Regions from separate parts of the Homo sapiens genome. Here region 1 is linked to region 2. The links are contacts of gene promoters, found by promoter capture Hi-C in blood cells and fetal thymus (Javierre and others, 2016). All regions are on one chromosome and are shown on one strand. The core of a region is centred on a gene start or on the middle of the fragment in contact, and the rest is flanking DNA. Distances in the headings are between cores, read along the strand shown. Region 1 overlaps PPARG (peroxisome proliferator activated receptor gamma). Region 2 holds the start of PPARG (peroxisome proliferator activated receptor gamma).

Region 1 (6,118 bases), core at 2,878-5,377, 98 kb after region 2:
ATCCCAGAAGTTCAAGGCTGCAGTGAGCTATGATCATACCACTGCACTCCAGCCTGGGTCACAAAAGCAAGACCCTAACTCCAAAAATAAATAAATAAATAAGTAAATAAATAAAATGACACTGAATTACATGATCTCTAAAGTCCCTTCAATTGAAACAGTTTTTACTCTAAAGGCAACCTAATACAGTGAAAAGGGACAAACCAGAGGTCAGCTCTGCCACTTTCCAAAGTCATTAGCCAGTCACATACACATTGTATCCTTCATCAGGCCCCCCATATGTAAAATGACTTGGTTAGATTGGCTACACAAGGTCTTATTCATCTCTAAGTTCTGTAATTTCAAAATGACACTTTGAAACACTCTGGCAAGAGATGCTTTCATTTAAAACACTAAAACCCGTTCGTTCTGTAATTTAAACCAAGTTAAAATATTTATGACCTTATATGAAATCATTGTATTAAGTCAGTTATCTAAGATCTTGATGAGTAGTAAGAACATGTCATTTTATTGACTTAGATTTTTTATTGAATGTTTTGTGGTTTTATTGAGTTTTATTTTAGATTTAATGAGTTAGAGTTTATTTTTACTGAGTTGGATACCATTTTTGAGTGAGTAAACTGTTGCTAAATTCTGAGCCATATTTATCTGAAGAAACCATTCTGTTTTGGTCATGTTGATAATTTACAACTATAAATAAATAAAAACAGCATGGTTGGTTTAAGGTTCCACAATAAGTTATTGTTTTTTATGGGCTAGTAAAGCACTTAGAAAACTAAAACTTTTAAGCAAATAGTTCCACCATAATCCTATTAGTCACAAATTTGTGGAAAGCTAACATTACTGAAAACAGCTGAAAATGGAAAGACAAGAACATTGTCAGTAGTTGGTTATAGTGATAAATCTGAGTTCTGAGGGCACTAAAACTTAAAAGCAAGCAGGGAAGAAGAGTAGCAAAAAGAGAAGAGAGAGGAGGAAATCCAAGTGCCTTCAACTTAGGATTAGAAAGGGTAGAAAGCAGGGAGGGAGAAAAAATACTTAATAAAACCTGAAGACTCTAGGGGAGTCCTTAACCTATCATAGATTAAAAAGCAAACATAGAAGAAAACTAAGCGTATTGTATACTAACCTGCAGTAATTTGCAAACCATCCAAAATGTGGATTCCAGAATTCCTAGACTAAAATGTAAGGAAGGTTTTACTCCCTTGGAAAGGGAAAATAGACATCTACACGTTTTAAAGGTAAGAATAAGAAAAATATTATTCTTGGAAAATTTAAACATTTAGTAATATACTACTTAATATAAAGAAAATATGTGAATCCACTTATATTTTGATATGCAGTCTTTCAAAATAATTTTAATATACTCAATGAATAAAATAGCATTTATTGTATACTGATTGCACAGAATAAATTTTTCATAAATATTTACCTTATAAAATAAACCCTGCTTCGGCTGGGGTTTTTATTCGGCGTAAAGATATAGAACAGCAGTTAGGAAAGAATTAGGACATCTTGATTCCTAAATGGATGATGGGTCGAAAAAGGAAACTTTTTTTGAATTCTTATTCTGATTTTTATTGAATTCTTAGTATGTACCAGATACTATGTGAGGTACATTTGCATATATCATTATTTAACCACATCCTACTCAGGTTTTCTCATCTAGAAAATGATTCAGATGATATTGGTAGGATGTGGTTACATAATGAAACATTATCATTTGGCTTCTTCAAGTATACATCAGCAGTTCCCAAAGTGTGGTCTGGGGCTTGGACCCTTTCAAGGCATCCATGAAGTTGAAACTATATTCATAATAATGATTTTTATTACTTTTTTCACTTTCATTCTCTCAGGAGTGTATGTGGAGTGTTCTGGAAGCTACATGATGTAGGATGATGACATAGCTCTGGTAGCTAATGGAATGTTTGCTTATGTGTTCTTGTATATAATAATTTCTCAGTTGTAATTTCTAGTGTGATAAATGTCAGTAAAGATAGCCCACATAAACAAAATCTCTTTGGGGTCTTCTATAATTTTAAAAAGAGTAAAGGGATCTTGCAACCATAAAGCCTTCAGTCTCATTCTGAAGAAATGCAGTTACTCATTCTTTGCTACTTTGAAACTAGACAAAATTGCTGCCACATTCTGAATACTGCTGCATTAGACCAGTGGCTGTCAGTAAAGACATCTCCTTAGCTTATAACCAATACGCAATAAAAAGCCAGGAAAATGGAATTAGCAAATGTGTTTAACTCATCTGCATGTATTTTCTGAGAGGTGTTTTGGAAGCTTCACATTTGCTGTTGTAGTAAAATGTGGGTTATATTCATAATTAAAATACAGTTGACCACAAAGCTGCAGGCTTATCTATGGATTGAAAAGAATAAACACAGCATAAAACAACTTTTGGTAGATCTTCCTAAACAATTTTACAATGTAAATGGAACAGGTTTATATTAGTGATTCTTGCCAAAAATTCAGTCAGACAGATGAGAATGAGTAGATTGGGTTTGAATTAAGGTGAAATAGTTACAGATTCTTGGGTATGTTAATATTGCAAACTTATGTAAAATAAAACCTTTAGCAACTGAAAGATATATATAATTTAGAGCTTGGAAAGCTATCATTTATTTGTTGTTTACATGTTGGAGATATATTTTTTTCTTTGGTAAGTTCCATCCTATTTTTTATCTTTAGTGAAAGATCATTTTGGAACCATAGCCGTACCTAAAGATATAAGTAAATACAGTCTACCATACAATACAATGTAATCTAAGTTTGTATTTCTGTATACAAAAGAATGCCGTATGCTTGTTAGCCACTTGTATGTCTATTCATCCCTACTTCAGAAAGAGTTTTAATTCTTCTCACCTGCCAGTCGTAGCTTATTAATCCAACTTCCAGGGGCCAGACTGCTTCATGGGAAAGCCAACTGCAAGCCCAGCACAGGGCTGTTAATTTCATTGTAAAATCAACAACACCATTCTGAGGTCTCATTGTCCCTGATGTTTTGTTAAAATTAAAGCAATTAAGGAGAGATCAAAGAAAATTTTTCAAATGATATGAAAAATTTGTCTGTTACTTTCTAGCAGACAAATGTGCAGACATTAGAATAAATATATACACAAAACAATTTTCTCAGATGGTGACTGATGCATCTCTAACACACCACATCACAGACTTCCTGATCATCAGAAGAGTAAGTTGTTGAAAATACATTGTTCTATGGACTCTAAAATAATAAAAAAGTGTTATTAGAGTGTTTCTTCATCAGTAATATGAAGAAAATTTGGAGAAGCCAGCCTTGTTCTGTAAATCGATAAATAATTTTACAGAAAAGCACTCGATAATATCCTTACATCTTCCTCTCTAGATTCCTTGAGTCACATAACAAGAAAACACTTGGTTATCATGAACTCGGTGTAAAAAAAGTAAAAGCAAGTTCCAAGATGCATGCTAGGATCTGTGTATTCAGTTCAAGATTTTATTTACATATACAGTGTATAATGTTCAGAATGATTATTCATTGAAAGACCTTGGATCATCACAAAAAATGTGATACACTTTTGAAAGTCATCAGCTGAGTCATGTCAGAAATTTCCATTATAAGAGTTAAACTTAATTCTCTTTTTTTTTTTTTGAACATGTGTCAAAGATTTATTTAAAACCCATTAACGAGGGAAAAGCAGGATGGTAAATCTAGTTCAAAGAAGAACTTGAAGGACCAAGAATATATAGTCACTGAAAGAAAGAATCCTGAGATAAGATTCAGAATGGTTAATGTTCTACAGGGCAATAAAACCATAACCTTGAGGTTATCTTTTCTTTTTTTTATTATTCTTATACTTTAAGTTCTAGGGTACATGTGCACAACGTGCAGGTTTGTTACATAGTTACACATGTGTCATGTTGATTTGCTGAACCCATCAACTTGTCATTTACATTAGGTATTTCTCCTAATGCTATCCCTCCCCCAACCCTCCACCCCCTGATAGGCCCCACTGTGTGATGTTCCCCGCCCTGTGTCCATGCATTCTCATTGTTCCACTCCCACCTGTGAGTGAGAACGTGCAGTGTTTGGTTTTCTGTCCTTGTGATAGTTTGCTTAGGATGATGGTTTCCAGCTCCATCCATGCCCCTGCAAAGGATATGGACTCATCCTTTTTTATGGCTGCATAGTATTCTATGATGTATATGTGCCACATTTTCTTAATCCAGTCAATCATTGATGGACATTTGGGTCAGTTCCAAGTCTCTGCTGTTGTGAATAGTGCCATAATAAACATATGTGTGCATGTGTCTTTATAGTAGCATGACTTATAATCCTTTGGATATATACCCAGTAATGGGATTGCTGGGTCAAATGGTATTTCTAGTTCTAGATCCTTGAGGAATTGCCACACTGTCTTCCACAATGGTTGAACTAATTTACACTTCCACCAACAGTGTAAAAGCATTCCTATTTCTCCACATCCTCTCCAGCGTCTGTTTTTTTCCTGACTTTTTAATGATCATCATTCTAAGTGGCGTGAGATGGTATCTCATTATGGTTTTGATTTGCATTTCTCTGATGGCCAGTGATGATGAGCATTTTTTCATATGTCTGTTGGCTGCATAAATGTCTTCTTTTGAGAAGTGTCTGTTCATATCCCTTACCCACTTTTTGATGGGGTTGTTTTTTTCTTGTAAATTTGTTTAAGTTCTTTGTAGATTCTGGATATTAGCCCTTTGTCAGATGGGTAGATTGCAAAAATTTTCTCCCATTCTGTAGGTTGCCTGTTCACTCTGATGATAGTTTCTTTTGCTGTGCAGAAACTCTTTAGTTTAATTAGATCCCATTTGTCAATTTTGGCTTTTGTTGCTATTGCTTTTGGTGTTTTAGACATGAAGTCTTTGCCCATGCCTATATCCTGAATGGTATTGCCTAGGTTTTCTTCTAGGGTTTTTGTGGTGTTAGGTCTTACATTTAAGTCTTTAATCCATCTTGAGTTAATTTTGTATATGGTGTAAGGAAGGGATCAATAATTCTCTTATCAAAAAAACCTTCCTCTCCTAGCCATGCCAAATAACTGAGCGCTCTGTGAGCCATCCAGCTGTCAGCTAGCCAAGTAGCATTTTCACCCACTAATATTAGTCTTTAAAAAGCAAGAATCAAAAGAGAAGTCAAGGAATATCATAAAATATCTATGATCACAATGGCAAACATCAGGATTTTCACCAACATTTATCAATGAGAACAGTTCTATACATTAGCATTCTGTTCATCTGTGAAAAAAAAACTTTTTGATATCTGAAGGTCCTCAGAACCCTTTGAGAATTAAAGAGACTTCAACTGCCAGCAAATTCTACATCGGGCATATTCTTTAAGACATTGCTGATCTCACAAGAGGTAGTGAAAACTCTCCAAAACAACATCAATGAAACAAAATGAAACAAACATACCCTCAGTTCCAAGCTGTGAGCTGCAGGCACACTTAGCAGGTCAGGGTTTTCCCCATGATAGATGCCCAGAGAGGTACAGTGGTGAGCATTGCCCCAAAGGCAGATGGCTGTAGCAGTTTTCTGAGCAATAAGTGAGAAGGAGCTAAGTGTAGGGCTTCTGAATTAAGCCAGGATTCTCAATAGTGTCTGAAATAGTCATAAGTCAGTAACACCCCTGGCTACTGAATTCCTAATTCAGACTTTGTAGGAGTCCCCCAGTTTAAGGTCAAGAAACTAGTTCCAAATAATATCAGCAAGCATGTGAGAAGCTAACCATCTTGAATGACATTCATCATCAACAAGAAAACTGATACAGACTCCCTGCTCTTCCCCTACCTGGGGAAAGCAGAAATTGGGATTGCCTGATACAGAATATAAAAAAGCTATTATGAATTATTTAAAGGAAGAGGGCATAGGCTTGCAACAATAAACTATTAGGAATAACCAGGATGATTTGAAAACCAAGTGAAAAAAAGGTGAAGCTTCTAAAAGTTAAAAGTATAATTATTGAAATAAAAATTCAGTGGAAGGGTTAGATAGCTTACTGGACACAGCAGAAGAAAAACCTGAAACTGAAAGAGATATGCAAAGAAATTACCAGAATGAAAGCAACAGTGTCTTAAAGAATATGCCC
Region 2 (5,333 bases), core at 993-3,492:
AAGGACATGATTATGTTGATTTAAGCGCTGAATATTTTCCCTTGTGATACCCATCCTCGCAAAACTTTGCTTCAACCACAAACGAGGACCTTCTGTACCAGAGGGGCAATAACCACAATGAAGCTAGGAAGAAATGCAGAGCACCCCAGCATACAGTCCATAAGCTTCCTGAAGTGGGGGGCCTCAGGCATCGCTGCCTCCCCAAAGAGGATCAGGCCCAGAACAGTATGCTCCAGAAATAAGACTGGAAAAAGGGAAAGAGGGGCCTCAAGTCCAGGAGACCAGCGGCTTTCTGAACGCGCACCTGCCAACCCACTTTGGACAGGTCACGATGGACAGCGTGGCAGGAAAAGAAAAGGTCACTGTCTACCCAACACATGAGAAACTGTTTCTCGTGCCTCACGTCCCCACTCCGTCCCCACCCATGTTGTCTGAGTCCCTCGGTGTCAGAAACACTGCTAAGAAATTTAAGAAATTCTGTTAATGAGTTTAAGAAATGTTTTTAATGATTAAAAGTCAGTGACTTGTGAATAACCATGTAACTTACAAACGCAAGGAACTCTGAAAGTGTGCAGCACCACCGATCAGAAGAGAAAACCAAGGGACCCGAAATATGCTTTAATTAAATTTTCTTTTAAAATGTCACTGGAAAGAACATCTTGGGAAGACGGCCTGGCCGATCGCCGTGTGAAGGGCAAGCCACTCTGGCCGAGAGGGAGCCCCACACCTCGGTCTCCCCAGACCGGCCCTGGCCGGGGGCATCCCCCTAAACTTCGGATCCCTCCTCGGAAATGGGACCCTCTCTGGGCCGCCTCCCAGCGGTGGTGGCGAGGAGCAAACGACACCAGGTAGCCTGCCGCGGGGCAGAGAGTGGACGCGGGAAAGCCGGTGGCTCCCGCCGTGGGCCCTACTGTGCGCGGGCGGCGGCCGAGCCCGGGCCGCTCCCTCCCAGTCGCGCGCCGCCGCCCCCGCCCCCGCCCCCGCCCCCGCCCCCACCCCCACCCCCACCCCCACCCCCAGCCGGCGCCCGCGCCCGCCCCCGCGCCGGGCCCGGCTCGGCCCGACCCGGCTCCGCCGCGGGCAGGCGGGGCCCAGCGCACTCGGAGCCCGAGCCCGAGCCGCAGCCGCCGCCTGGGGCGCTTGGGTCGGCCTCGAGGACACCGGAGAGGGGCGCCACGCCGCCGTGGCCGCAGGTCAGAGTACGGGTGCCCGCGGCGCTCGGGAACCGGCTGCTGGCTGGGCGGGGAGTGCTCAGGGAGGGGGCGCGGAGGGCTGGGGCCGAGGGTCTGGGGGCTAGGGCCGAGGAAACGGGAACTGACGGGGTCCCAGACGGATGAGAGCTGGGGAGAAGGGGGTCTCGGCTGAGGGGTCCGGGGCTGAGGCAGGGTCATGGTCCGGCAGGACCCGGACTGACGGGTCGCGGGCGGGCGGCTCACGGGTGACCGGGTGAAGGGGTCTTGGGCTGAGGGCACCCGGGCTGAGGGTCGCGTCTACCGGAGCGCGCACTAGGGGCGGAGGGCGCGGGCACAGAGAGCCGCGGCCGGTGCCGACTCGAGTGGACGCGAGCCGGTGCGTCCCGGCTTCCAGGACAGCCCCCCTCGGGAGAGCGCCGGGTGGGCGCGGAGCCGGGGACACGGGGACCTCCGCGTCCCCGGCGGAGGTGCGCAAGCGTCGGGAGCCGCTCCGGGGGAACTTTGGAGCAGGGTGTCTGGACCCGGGGAAGCGAAGATCCGCGTGCGTCCGTCCTGAGGCCGCGCGGCACCCCTGCTGAGGAGGAGGTCCCGTTCGCTGTCCAGAGCCCAGGGGCGACCGCCGCTTGGGGACCGGGGGACCGTTCAGCGAGGGGCGCGCTTGTAGCTGGCCAGGCCCTGTGCCCTGACGCGTTGTGCTGGCCCTACGCCCGGCGGAGGGGCTGGGGACGGGGACTGGGTGCCTCCGTGCCTCCGCGGATGGAGCGCGCAGCCAGGACCCCCAGCCGCACCCCGGGGGGCTGGAAAGGCGAAGTCGCTGCTTTGTGGGCTCCTGCAAGTGCCAGGCGCTGACCACTCCTCCTGGGAGCCTAACTGAGGGGGGTAGAGGCAGCAGAGGTTAACAGAAATCTCAGGTCCCTTGGTGGAAGGTGGGTGTGTAGTCGTGGTACTTTACGCCTCGGTGTTTAGGGAGGAGCCTAAGGTAAGGAGTCAGAAACGGGGAGTAACCGAGCTGCGGCTTTTATATAAGGTCAGTGGTAGGTAAGGAAGGGGCCTTAACCTCTGCTGGTGACCAGAAGCCTGCATTTCTGCATTCTGCTTAATTCCCTTTCCTTAGGTGAGTTGGCTCACTCTCATTGCATTTTGTTGGAATGTGTTGGTGATAGGTCCGAAATTTGCAAAATTATTGTATTATCCTTATATCATTTTTTTTTGCAGTGCTCTTGTTTTATAAGAAGAATCCAATTCACTTGGGTCATAGGCTAACGGTTGTAAAAATAGTGTCATTGTTATAAAAGAAATCAAGTCAAAAATAGTCGTCTGCCATGAAGAAACTAAAATTTTTCTTCTTTTCCTTGCAAGATTAGGGACAAAATGTAAAGTTTATTTGTGTAAATTATCATTTGGATATAAAACCAGACAATGATAAACTGAGTTGTATAATACCTATTCCTGGAAAACCTCTGATTTTGAAGTACATTATTTTAACCCCAACTGTTTCTGTCATTCGTGAGACAAATTGTTAACTGGATTTATTAAGAGAACAATGAATAACTTAACTCTTTAAAAGGACCTGGGCAAATCTTCGACAGGTTTCAGGTATTTTATGGCAGTCTTTCTGTCTATTGCTAAGTGATCGATTGCTGACTGAGAACAGAACCAACTGATGGTGCTAGATGATTTAGAAAACCTTTCTGGTATAGGGACTGGCATGGACATTCACTGTGGCTTTTCTCTTAAAGAAATACCTTTCACTCCTAGGGGAGTTTGACAGAAGACACTCATAGATGCTACCAGTTAGCATTTGGAGTAATATATCAAAACATTCTGTTCAAGTTTTAAAGTAAGTTTTGTGTAGTATATTTTCAATCAGATTCACTTTGGAATCAAATACACTTTATTTGATTCCAAATAAAGTGTATTTGAATATTCACTTTAATATACGAAACTTTAAAGGTAATGTCTCAGCCAAAAAGTGAAGTGTATTACAAAACTGTCCATTTTTGTCTTCTTGTGTACTTCACATAATTTTTCTCCCTGATTTAAATTATATGATATTTGATAGTTAACTTGCTAATAATTATGTCTTAAGAGATCTTTGAATCAACTGGTGGCCATCTCAGTCTTTTAAAACTCACTTGAAGGAAAAGAGAAACACTAATGATGGTTTTTTTTAAAATCAAAAACTTTTTTCATATTTACAAGTTTGTTTCTAGTTCTTAAACAATAACTGCTGTAAAACCATGGCATCAGTGAGGTATAAAGTTTTGTAGAATCCCAGGCTGAAGACTTTTTGGATGTCGTTTTCTCATTTCTTTACATTAAAAAGAATATAATTTCTTTTTAAAATTAAAACTAAAATGTCCACCGGCCTCATATTCTTTATTGAACTTAAGTGCTTTGAAAATATTTTTGCGATTGATATTTTTAATGATAAAATATAATATTTTCTTTGAAGGACTAGTTTCCTAAATGTTCATTTTTTTGTATGTTTCAGAACTACTTTTAAAAAAATTCTAGATTATGCTTTAAATTGCAATATTTCTAAATTCCTATGACATTTAAAATGTGTACAAGAGAAAAGGTGTGACATGAGGAATATGAATTAGAAGTGGATTACTAATGGTCGTAGTGAATTGTTTTTAATCAGTGTTATATAAATATAAACAAATACTTTTTTCTTCTGTAATTTTCTGACAATAAGGATGTTAGCCACTAACCTTAATTATCAAGATAATTATGTGCATGAAAGCTGTGTAAAAGGCACAACCGTGGAACATATACAAGTATTAATAATACATTTCATTTAGTTTTCAGGTTATAAAATCGTTATTAATAACAAGAGGCTTTCATGAAGTAGGAAAATATGTTAAAATGACATTTTCTGAATGTTTCACACATTCTGGCCCACACTTTCACTTCTTTCCTAGCATCTATATATTCCCAATGCATAGGACAGAGTTGGTCATTCTAATTGTGGGTGTCTTTCTGCTGGATTCGTTGTCACTTGGACTTGGAAATACAGTATGTCATTAGGTGTGGCAAATGTACTGGAAGAAGTTTTTGGTCTCATAGGATTCCACTAAATAAATATTAGCTGTAGAGGATTTTTAAAAACTCACTAATAGAGAAAACTTGGTGAAGTCACTAGTGTGTAAGCGTAAACATATGCACCCCCCACAACTGAATTTCTAATTTGCTTATTTTTCCTGGTAGATCTCCACTTTGCTTACTCTCTCTTAATATCCCAAAGCAACAAAAAGCGCAGTGATTTTAATTGCTTACAAAGGTCCTTTGAAACGGATCTAATTTGACTCCACAAAAGAATAGTAAGAGTTGTGAACAACCATCTTGCAAGTGTAGATATCCCCAGCGTATCAACTTCAGTTAGTTTCATAGCGTTCTAAATCAAAAATTTAGATTTAAGATTATTTGAAATCTTCTTGGAAGTTCTTACTTACTGTTTGCGTTTTCTCAAAATACAGAGGTAGATTGGGGGAGTAATATAGTATATGTTTTAAAGCTGTTATTTAACTAAAATGTCATGTTTTAAATTTTATTTAATGCACTTAAAGTAGGTTCTTGGGATAAAATCTATTCAGATGCAATAGGCCATGTTTTGGGGAAAACTTTTGTAGATGTTTAGATAATATCTGTCATCAATAATAGTATATGTTTAAATTATTTTGTAAAAACAGATTTACATATTTTTAAAATTTCTCTTCAACAATAAGTACACATCAATATTTTAATGCCGAGAATTTCATTCAGAGTATGACTGTTTACATTTTCAACTGTTTCAATTATTATGGCTTAGGCAAGTACCTTATCCTTTCTCTCAATTTTGTCATCTTTGAAACGGAGAAAGTGTTGCAGTTATTATTGCTTGCTCTTTTGCTATGATTTTAAGGCTTTATGAGCAAACCCATGTACTTTAAATGATGTGACCATGACCCTGAATTTAATTGAGCTGATATTCTGAAAAGAACCTTCATGAATATCTATGTCATAGCTAACTCTTTTACCAATGTTAATAGTTCACTGTAGTTCAAACCTCAATAACTTTGAGATTGTTAAGATTGAAGATGATGCTTCTCATGTGGTGATCAATTTATAAACTGTTTCTGGGAATATTTTATTATC

The links. Contacts are between HindIII fragments. The CHiCAGO score rates a contact against its expected background, and 5 or more counts as called.
Region 1: a fragment that was not itself captured here is called in contact with the fragment with the promoter of PPARG in region 2 in 3 of 17 cell types (M0 macrophages, monocytes and M2 macrophages); the score reaches 6.3 in M0 macrophages.

The regions. Positions count from the first base shown.
Region 1 is chr3:12,382,891-12,389,008 of GRCh38, forward strand. All of the region lies in intron 4 of PPARG (peroxisome proliferator activated receptor gamma), which reads left to right. Among named protein-coding and RNA genes, the nearest start is that of PPARG, 97 kb to the left of the region's middle. The HindIII fragment of the contact is 3,674 bases long and covers 2,291-5,964 here.
Region 2 is chr3:12,286,828-12,292,160 of GRCh38, forward strand. It overlaps PPARG (peroxisome proliferator activated receptor gamma), which reads left to right and starts at 2,243. Exons shown (of 8, transcript NM_138711.6): 1 at 2,243-2,307. RefSeq lists an enhancer at 226-804. The HindIII fragment of the contact is 6,976 bases long and covers 163-5,333 here.